Linked DNA regions of Homo sapiens: region 2 is linked to region 1. Evidence: promoter capture Hi-C in human tissues and cell types (Jung and others, 2019). All regions are on one chromosome and are shown on one strand. Each heading gives the region's core, a stretch centred on a gene start or on the middle of the fragment in contact. The rest is flanking DNA. Distances are from core to core; before and after follow the strand shown.

Region 1 (4,392 bases), core at 1,284-3,783:
CCCCCTAACCTGACCCCCCCAGAATCCCCCAACATGACCCCCGAGGACCCAACCTGACCCCCCCCACAACATGAACCCCCTGGAACCCCTGTCCTGATCCCACTAGACCTCCCCCAGCAGAAACCCCTCCATCTGGAACCCGCTAGAACTCCCATCCTGACCCCGCTAAAGCCCCCCCATGTCCTGACACCCCTAAGACACCCCCTTGTCCTCAGATACCCCAGAACTCCCACCCTGACCCCCCCAAAGTCCCCCGATCCTGACCTTTCTAGGGTCTCCCACCCCATCGTGACCCCCTAGGACACCCCTCTCCCACATCCTGACCCTTCTGGGAGCCCCCTGTCCTCCCCTCTCTTCCCTTTTCCCTGGTTGTCTATGGACCTCCTCACCCCATCCTCTCCCCTAAGGGACCCCCCTGCCCCACCTTGGCACCCTAGGTGCCCTCTTCATCCCATGCCAACCTCATTACTCAGGGACTCATTCCCCAAAAGGACCGCTCCCCGCCCCCCCAAGACCTCTCAGCCTGTCCTCCCCACCCAGGTGCTGCACTCTCAACCTGTGGCTCAGGCACCCTCCCACCCCATCTCTCCCCCATAGGAACCCTCCCACCCCATCTCTCCCCCATAGGGACCCTCCCACCCCATCTCTCCCCCATAGGGACCCTCCCACCCCATCTCTCCCCCATAGGGACCCTCCCACCCCATCTCTCCCCCACAGGGACCCCCTCACCCCATCTCTCCCCCATAGGGACCCCCTCACCCCATCTCTCCCCCATAGGGACCCTCCCACCCCATCTCTCCCCCATAGGGACCCCCTCACCCCATCTCTCCCCCATAGGAACCCTCCCACCCCATCTTTCCCCCATAGGGACCCCCTCACCCCATCTCTCCCCCAAGGGACTCGCTTCACTATCATTTCAATATGCAGAACACCCCTTGCCTATCCTTCCCCCACAGGCCCCCACCGACACATCCTCTCCTCCCAGGGACCCCCTCAACCCCATCTCACAATTCAGGGGCCCTGCACCCCATCTTCTCTCTGCAAGGACATCTCCTTGGCCTGATCTCACGACTTAGGGATTCCAAACCCCATCTTTTCCCCAAAGGGATCTCCCCTCACTCCAATCTCATTACTCAGGGACCCCACCATCTCCCCGATTTCACTATTCAGGGACCGTTCACCCCATTTCACTACTCAGAGACCTACCACCATTCTGCTACTCAGTGACTCCATGCCCTGTCTTTTCCCACAGGGACCTCCCTTGGCCCTATCTCATTATTGAGGGACCCTTACCCCGTCTTTTCCTACCAGGGACCCTACCCCATCTCAGTCTCATTACTCAGGGACCCCTCACCCCATCCTCTCCCCTCTGGAGCCCCCTTGCCCAGATTTCCTCCTCAGGGGCTGCCTGACCTCCCCACACCCCATCCTCTCCTCTCAGGAATGCCCTGCACCCCGATTTCCCTACTCAGGGTCTCCCCTCACCCTCATCTCATGACTACGGCAACCTTTACTCCGTCCTTTCCTCTTAGGAACTCTTCACCCTCATTTCACTACTCAAGGACCCCACACTGTGTTCTCTCCTCTTAGAGATACCCCTCACCCCGATCTCACTGCTTGGGGAGCCTCATCCTGTTCTCTCCTTGGGGACACCCCTCATTCCGATTTTCCTACTGAGGGACTCCCCTCACCCCAGCTTCACTTTTCAGAAGCCCCACACCCCATCTTCTGCACTGCAGGGACCTCCCCTCACTCAACCTCGCTGCTCAGGGACCCCTGTCCCCATCCTCTCCTCTTAGAGACATCCTTCACCCCAACTTCACTACTCAGAGACTCCCGTTATCCCAATTCCACTCTTCAGGAACCCCACACCCCATCTTTTCCACCACAAGGACCTCCCCTCGCCCAATCTCACTGCTCAAAGACCCCCCTGCCCCGTGCACCCTTCGCCCCGTCCTCCGAGGGCCCCCTGCCCCGTCCTCCCCCGAGGGCCCCCTGCCCCGTCCTCCCCCGAGGGTCCCCTGCCCTGTCCTCCCCTCGAGAACCCCCTGCCCCGTGCACCACTCACCCCGTCCTCCCCCGTGACCCCCCTGCCTCGTGCACTCCTCGCGAACCCCCGTCCCCTCGCCCCGTCCTTCCCCGAGGGCTCCCTGCCCCGTGCACCCCAAGCCTCCGGCTGACCCCTGCCCACTCACTCGGAGGCGCCCTCGCTGGTAGGGGATGGGCCCTCGGCGATGGTAGGGTTGATGGTGAGCGCCGGCAGCACCGGCTTCCTCCGGGCCAGCATCGGGGCTCCGCGGGCCGGCGGCGGCGGCGCCTCTAGCCGGGGCCCATAGGGGGCGGGCCGGGAGCGGTCGGCGCCTACGCGAGCCCGGGGCTGCGGCCGCGGCCCAGGCCGGCGTCGGGGCGGCCGAGGGCGGGCGGCGCTGCGGGCCTGGGCCGAGGGTAGCCGAGGGGCGCTGGGGCTGAGGCGAGCGAGCCGCTACCGCTGCCGAGGCCCGAAGAAGGCTGACGCCGCAGCCCGAGTCCGAGAGGCAGGGGGAGGGGAGGGGCGGCCACAAGATCGCGGACCGGCTTCTCGCGATAACGGGATCGGGAGCCGCGATGGACCCCACCCCCAGCCGCCGCGCCTGCGCAGCAGCACAAGGCCGCCTTTCGGAGGGGAAAGGGGCGGAGACCGACGCGAGGCGGTGCCGGGACCGGGCGCCCTCGCTTGCCTTACCACGGCGCGTGTGCCCAAGCGCTTGGGGCATGAGGCGCGGGAGCAGGGGAGGAGACGGAGGGATGAAGGCTGGGGTGATGGTCGTGCACAGGTGGGCAGGGTAGCCAGACTCCTGAGAGCCTGTGGTGCCCCAGGCTGGGGCTGAGAGAACCCGTAAGACCCCAGAACAGTGGACGAGACCCACCCAGAGTCCATTTAATCTTTTTGGCAAGCGTGGACACACGCCCCTAGCCCCCACCGCCTTAGAGTGTCAGTTACTCCCCCTCCTTCATCAGAACAAGGCCACTCTAAAACATTTTTAAAATTTATTTTAATTGACAAATAAAATTGCATATATTACTATGCGCATGTTGAAACATTTTTATTATAAAATACACATAACATAAAACTTGTCATTTTAACCATTTCTAAATGCACAGCTCAGCGGCATTAAGCAACCACCACCACCACCATCTCCAGAATTTTCTCATCTTCCGAAACTGAAACACTGTCCCCTATGAAACCTCACTCCCTATCCCCCTCCCCAGCCCCTGGAACCCAACGTCGTACTTCCTGTGAATCTGATGATTCTAGGGACTTCATATGAGTAGGATCACACAGGTTTTGTCCCTTTGTGGCTGGCATATTTCACTGAGGGCCACGTCCTCAAGGTGCCTGTTGTAGCTGTGTTAGATCCACGTTGTAACCTGTGTTAGAATTTACCCACTTGACTACTCCGGGCATACTTCCAATCGGGTAGCCCTGCTCCAAAAAAGAGCAGAAAAAAAAAAAAAAAGAAAAATTTCCCTTTTTTTTTTTTTGAGACGGAGTCTCGCTCTGTCACCCAGGCTGGAGTGCAGTGGTGCGATCTCGGCCCACTGCAAACTCTGCCTCCCGGGTTCACGCCATTCTCCTGCCTCAGCCTCCCGAGTAGCTGGGACTACAGGTGCCCACCACCATGCCCGGCTAATTTTTTTGTATTTTTAGTAGAGACGGGGTTTCACCGTGTTAGCCAGGATGGTCTCCATCTCCTGACCTCGTGATCCACCCGCCTCGATCTCCCAAAGTGCTGGGATTACAGGCGTGAGCCACCGCACCCAGTCAGGATTTTCCTCCTTTTTAAGGCTGAATAATATTCTATTGTGTGCATGGACTATATTTTGCTTATCCATTTATCTGCCACTAGACACTTCGGTGAATCGTGCCGCTATGAACACAGATGTACAAATATCTGTTTGAGTCCTTGCCTTGAGTTCTTTTGGGTATATGTTCTGAAGAGGAATTACTGGATTATATGGTAATTCTATGTTGAACTTTTTGAAGCACCACCTTACTATTTAATACAATAGCCGTACCACTTTATAAGAAAGGTCATAGGCTGGGCGCGGTGGCTCACGCCTGTAATCCCAGCACTTTGGGAGGTCGAGGCGGGTGGATCACCTGAGGTCAGGAGTTGAAGACGAGTCTGGCCAACATGGTGAAACCCCGTCTCTACTAAAACAAAAAAATACAAAAATTAGCCGGGCATGGTGGCGCGTGCCTGTAATCCCAGCTACTCGCGAGGTTGAGGCAGAAGAATTGCTTGAACCCGGGAGGCAGAGGTTGCAGTGAGCCAAGATCACGCCATTGCACTCCAGCTTGGGAGACAAGAGCGAGACTTCGTCTCAAAAAAATCAAACAAACAAACAAAC
Region 2 (4,392 bases), core at 933-3,432, 330 kb before region 1:
GGGCGACAGAGTGGAGACTCCATCTCAAGAAAAAAAAAAAAAATTAGCTGGGCGTGGTGGCATGTGCCTATAATCCCAGCTACTCGGGAAGCTGAGGCAGGAGAATCACTTAAACCTGGGAGGTGGAGGTTGCAATGAGCTGAGATCAGGCCACTGCATTCCAGCCTGGGTGATAGAGTGAGACTGTCAAAATAAATAAATAAAAAATAAATAAAATAAAAGCTTCCCATGGTTCCCACTAAGCTCAGTGTGCCTCCCGGTGCTTTGTCACCTCTGCGGTCCAGTGGCTGTCACCTCTCTGCTCCCAGCTTCTCCCTTGTCTCCCAAAAGCTCAGGCATGGGGCAGCCACAGGACCTTTGCACATGCTCTTCCTATCTCCTAGTACTACATCCTTCCCCCAGCTCTTCTCAAGGCCAGCTACTTCTCTGCACTTTCAGCTTCTCCAAGAGACCCTCCCTGGCCACCCCACAGTGGTCACCCTTAGTTACTCTCTATTGTCAAAGCCGGAATCCCCACCTGTTATCCTGTCTCACTCGTCATTGTCAATCTCCCTCCATCCTTGCTTCCCACGACAGAATATATCTTCCTAATGAGGGTAACGACCAGCCCTGGGCCCGGCAACCATTTAGGTCTGGAGCCTGGCACATAAAAGGCCCTTACAGAAGCAGATGAGAGGGTAAAGTCTGAGGAAGGAGGCCAGGCATGAAGGCTCACGCTTGCAATCCCAGCACTTTGGGAGGCTGAGGTGGGAGGATTGCTTGAGCCCTGCCATTGGAGACCAGTCTGGCCAACATAGTGAGACCCTGTCTCTACAAAAAATAAAATAAACTAGCTGGGTGTGGTGGTGTATGCCTGTAGTCCCAGCCACTCAGGAAGCTGAGGCAGGAGGATCACTTGAGCCCAGGAGGTTGAGGCTGCAGTCAGCTATGATTATGCTACTGCACTCCAGCCTGGGCAACAGAGCAAGACCCTGTCTCAAAAAAAGAAAAGAAAAGATCAAGTAAGGAGAACAGGAGATACACATTATTCCGGAATAAACCAGTCATGTCTACTCAAGAGCAGCCCCTAAGTCTCTCCTCCAGGATCCCTCTTCATCCTCTCATGACCTCATGCTCTAACTCAGGGCCCAGCAAACTGTCTCTCTAAAGGGCATGCTGGTCTCTGTCCCAACTACTCAGCTCTGCCATTTCAGGGACACCATAGATAACACAGAAGCCAAAGACCGTGGCTGCATTCCAATAAAACTTTATTTATGGACATGGACATTTGACTTTCATATTACTTTTCTTTTCTTTTGCTTTTTTTTTTTTTTTTTTTTGAGCTGGAGTCTCGCTCTGTTGCCCAGGCTGGAGTGCAGTGGCGTGATCTTGGCTCACTGCACGCTCCACCTCCCAGGTTCACACCATTGTCCTGCCTCAGTCTCCCATGTAGCTGGGACTACAGGCGCCCGCCACCACACCCGCCTAATTTTTTGCATTTTTAGTAGAGAAGGGATTTCATCGTGTTAGCCAGGATGGTCTCGATCTCCTGACCTCGTGATCCGCCCACCTCGGCCTCCCAAAGTGCTAGGATTATGGGCGTGAGCCACCAAGCCTGGCCTTTTTTTTTTTTTTGAGACAGAGTCTCACTCTGTTACCCAGGCTGGAATGCATTAACGTGATCTCGGCTCACTGCAACTTCTGCCTCCTGGGTTCAAGCAATTCTCATGTCTCAACCTCCCAAGTAGCTGGGATTACAGGCATGTGCCACCACACCCGGCTAATTTTTGTATTTTAGTAGAGATGGGTTTCATGTTGGCCAGGCTGGTCTTGAACTCCTGACCTTAGATGATCTGCCCACTTTGGCCTCCCAAAGTGCTGGGATTACAGATATGAGCCACCATGCCCGGCCTCATATGACTTTTCATATGTCATATAATATTGATTCCATTTTCCTCCAACTATTTACAAATGTAAAAAAACGATTTTAGCTGGAGGAGTTGTGCGGATACAGATGGCAGGTTGGACTTGGCCCTCAGACTGTAGTTTGCTCTCCGCTGCCTTCTCACAGTCTTTATTTTCTCATAAGTAGGTGCTTTTTTTTTTTTTTTTTTTTTTTTTTTTGAGATGGAATCTCACTGTTTCGTCCAGGCTGGAGTGCAGAGGCGTGATCTTGGCTCACTGCATCCTCCGCCTCCCAGGTTCAAGCTATTCTCCTGCCTCAGCCTCTTGAATAGCTAGGATTACAGGCACGCGCCATCACGCCTGGCTAATTTTTGTATTTTTAGTAGAGATGAGGTTTCACCATGTTGGCCAGGCTGGTCTCGAACTCCTGACCTCAAGTGATCTGCTTGCCTCGGCCTCCCAAAGTGCTGGGATTACACGTGTGAGCCACCAGCTGTATTTTTCAATCTGTTAAATTAAATGTGCTGATACTCATGGCATGTAATAAGCTCTCAAGAAGTGTTTAAAAAAATAAAACTCAAAATATATAAATAAAGCTCCTCAACTCAGCAATGAGCCTCTCAAGGGTAAGTATATTCTTGTTGGTATGAATAGCAGCTGATATTTATAGGGTGTTTTACTGTGTGCTGAAGACAAAGCAATATAATGTCCCACTCCTCAGGGGTTGCTGTTGCTGTTTTCAGGTATTTACCTCCATAGTTCCAAGTAATGTGTTTTACACATCCCTTGATTTATCAGTTGGATGTTGTCCATTGACTTCCTATTCCAGAAGGTCAAGATTTAGCTCTCTTAGGCATTCTGCTCCCCCAACAGTTAAATCACAATTTTTGCTTAAATGAAAATTCAGTGCTTATAGTATATATATTAATATAAATATTATTGACAGTGGAGCAATGTATACTAAGAACATTATTTTCTGGGACCTGCTTTTTTATTTCCCTGGAGTTAGTCATCGCCTTGGTTTTATGTGTCTGTGACTCTTTCCCCCAGCCTCTCCACCAGAACTGACATCTCCACTCAGGACTTTCTCCTACTGCCCAGCTGTGATCCTGGCCCCTCTCTTCTTCGGCACAAGGGGATTCTTAGATATAGCTCCTGTTTCTTGGGTGTGGGTCTCCCTGTTTCTTGGTTTGGTCCCTTGTTTTAGGAATGTGCTCCCCCTAGGGTTTCCAGAGAAAGTGTTTTCCTCCTACTCTCCTGGGTAATTAGAGGTTTGGCTGACAGTATTGTAGGTGGATACTTTTCTTTTGCCCAATGTTTTCCAGCTTCTAGTCTTGGGCAGCTGAATGATCAGAAGTTGTCCTGTTTCCTCATACTTTGCCTGTCCCATGGTTAATTTCTGTCTCTCTCTCTCTCTTTCTGGAAGCTTGTAGAATCTTCTTGTTCCCTACATCCTGCACTTTCACAGTGGTGGGTTTGGTGTGGGTCTGTTTTCAACCATTGTGCTGAGTACTTGGTGGGCTCTTTCCTGTGTTCTCTTCCTGGCAAACTTTCTTGAATGATATCATTGGTGATTTCTTCCACTTTGGTTTCTCTGGCGTGTTTGTGGAACACGTTATTGTCATAGGGTGGACTTCTTGGATTGATGTTTTCATTTTCTTGCCTACCTTCCCCCCCACCCCCCCACTTTCTACTTTTTCTTCCAACCCTTCTATTGACATTTTAATTTTGACTATTAATTTTTTTTTTTTTTTGAGACAGGGTCTCACTCTGTTGCTCAGGCTGGAGTGCAGTGGTGCAATCACAGCCCACTGCAGCCTCGACCTCCTGGGCTCAAGTGATCCTCCTGCCTCAGCCTCCCAAGTAGCTGGGACTACAGGTGCCTGCCACCATGCTGGCTAATTTTTTTGATTTTTAGTCTCACTATGTTTCCCAGGCTGGTTTCAAACTCCTGAGCTCAAACAATCTGCCTGCCTCAGCCTCCTGGAGTGTTGGGATTACAGGCATGCACCACCACACCCAGTGACTGTCAGAGTTTTAATTTCCAAGAGCTCTTTCTGGTTCTTTTACCGTTCCTCTTTAAAGGACAAACTTGGCTGTGTGTGGTGGCTCACGGAGCTCAGGAGTTTGAGACCAGCCTGGGCAACATAGTGAGACCCCAATCTCCAAATAATATGTAAATAAATAAAAGAATTTCTTGGCCCAGTGCAGTGGCTCACACCTGTAATCCCAGCACTTTAGGAGTCTGAGGCTGATGGGTCACCAGAGGTCAGGAGTTCGAGACCAGGCTGGCCAACATGGTGAAACCCCATCTCTACTAAATATACAAAAATTAGCCGGGCATGGTGGCTCATGCCTATAATCCCAGCTACTTGGGAGGCTAAAGGAGGAGAATCGCTTGAACCTGGGAGGTGAAGTTTGCAGTGAGCCAAGAACACATCACTGTACTCCAGCCTGGGTGACAGAGGGAGACTCCATCTCAAAAAATAAAAAATAAAAATAAATAAT

Evidence for each region. Contacts are between HindIII fragments. The study calls those that stand out against the background at their distance.
Region 2: a contact is called between a fragment that was not itself captured here and the fragment with the promoter of MAP2K2 in region 1, in 1 of the 25 tissues and cell types used here (dorsolateral prefrontal cortex).

Annotation. Positions count from the first base shown.
Region 1 is chr19:4,121,589-4,125,980 of GRCh38, forward strand. It overlaps MAP2K2 (mitogen-activated protein kinase kinase 2), which reads right to left and starts at 2,534. Exons shown (of 11, transcript NM_030662.4): 1 at 2,196-2,534. The coding sequence starts at 2,287. RefSeq lists silencers at 2,127-2,376, 2,567-2,686. The HindIII fragment of the contact is 9,633 bases long and covers 1-4,392 here.
Region 2 is chr19:3,793,677-3,798,068 of GRCh38, forward strand. It overlaps a transcript of MATK not described here. Among named protein-coding and RNA genes, the nearest start is that of MATK, 9.5 kb to the left of the region's middle. The HindIII fragment of the contact is 4,542 bases long and covers 1-4,392 here.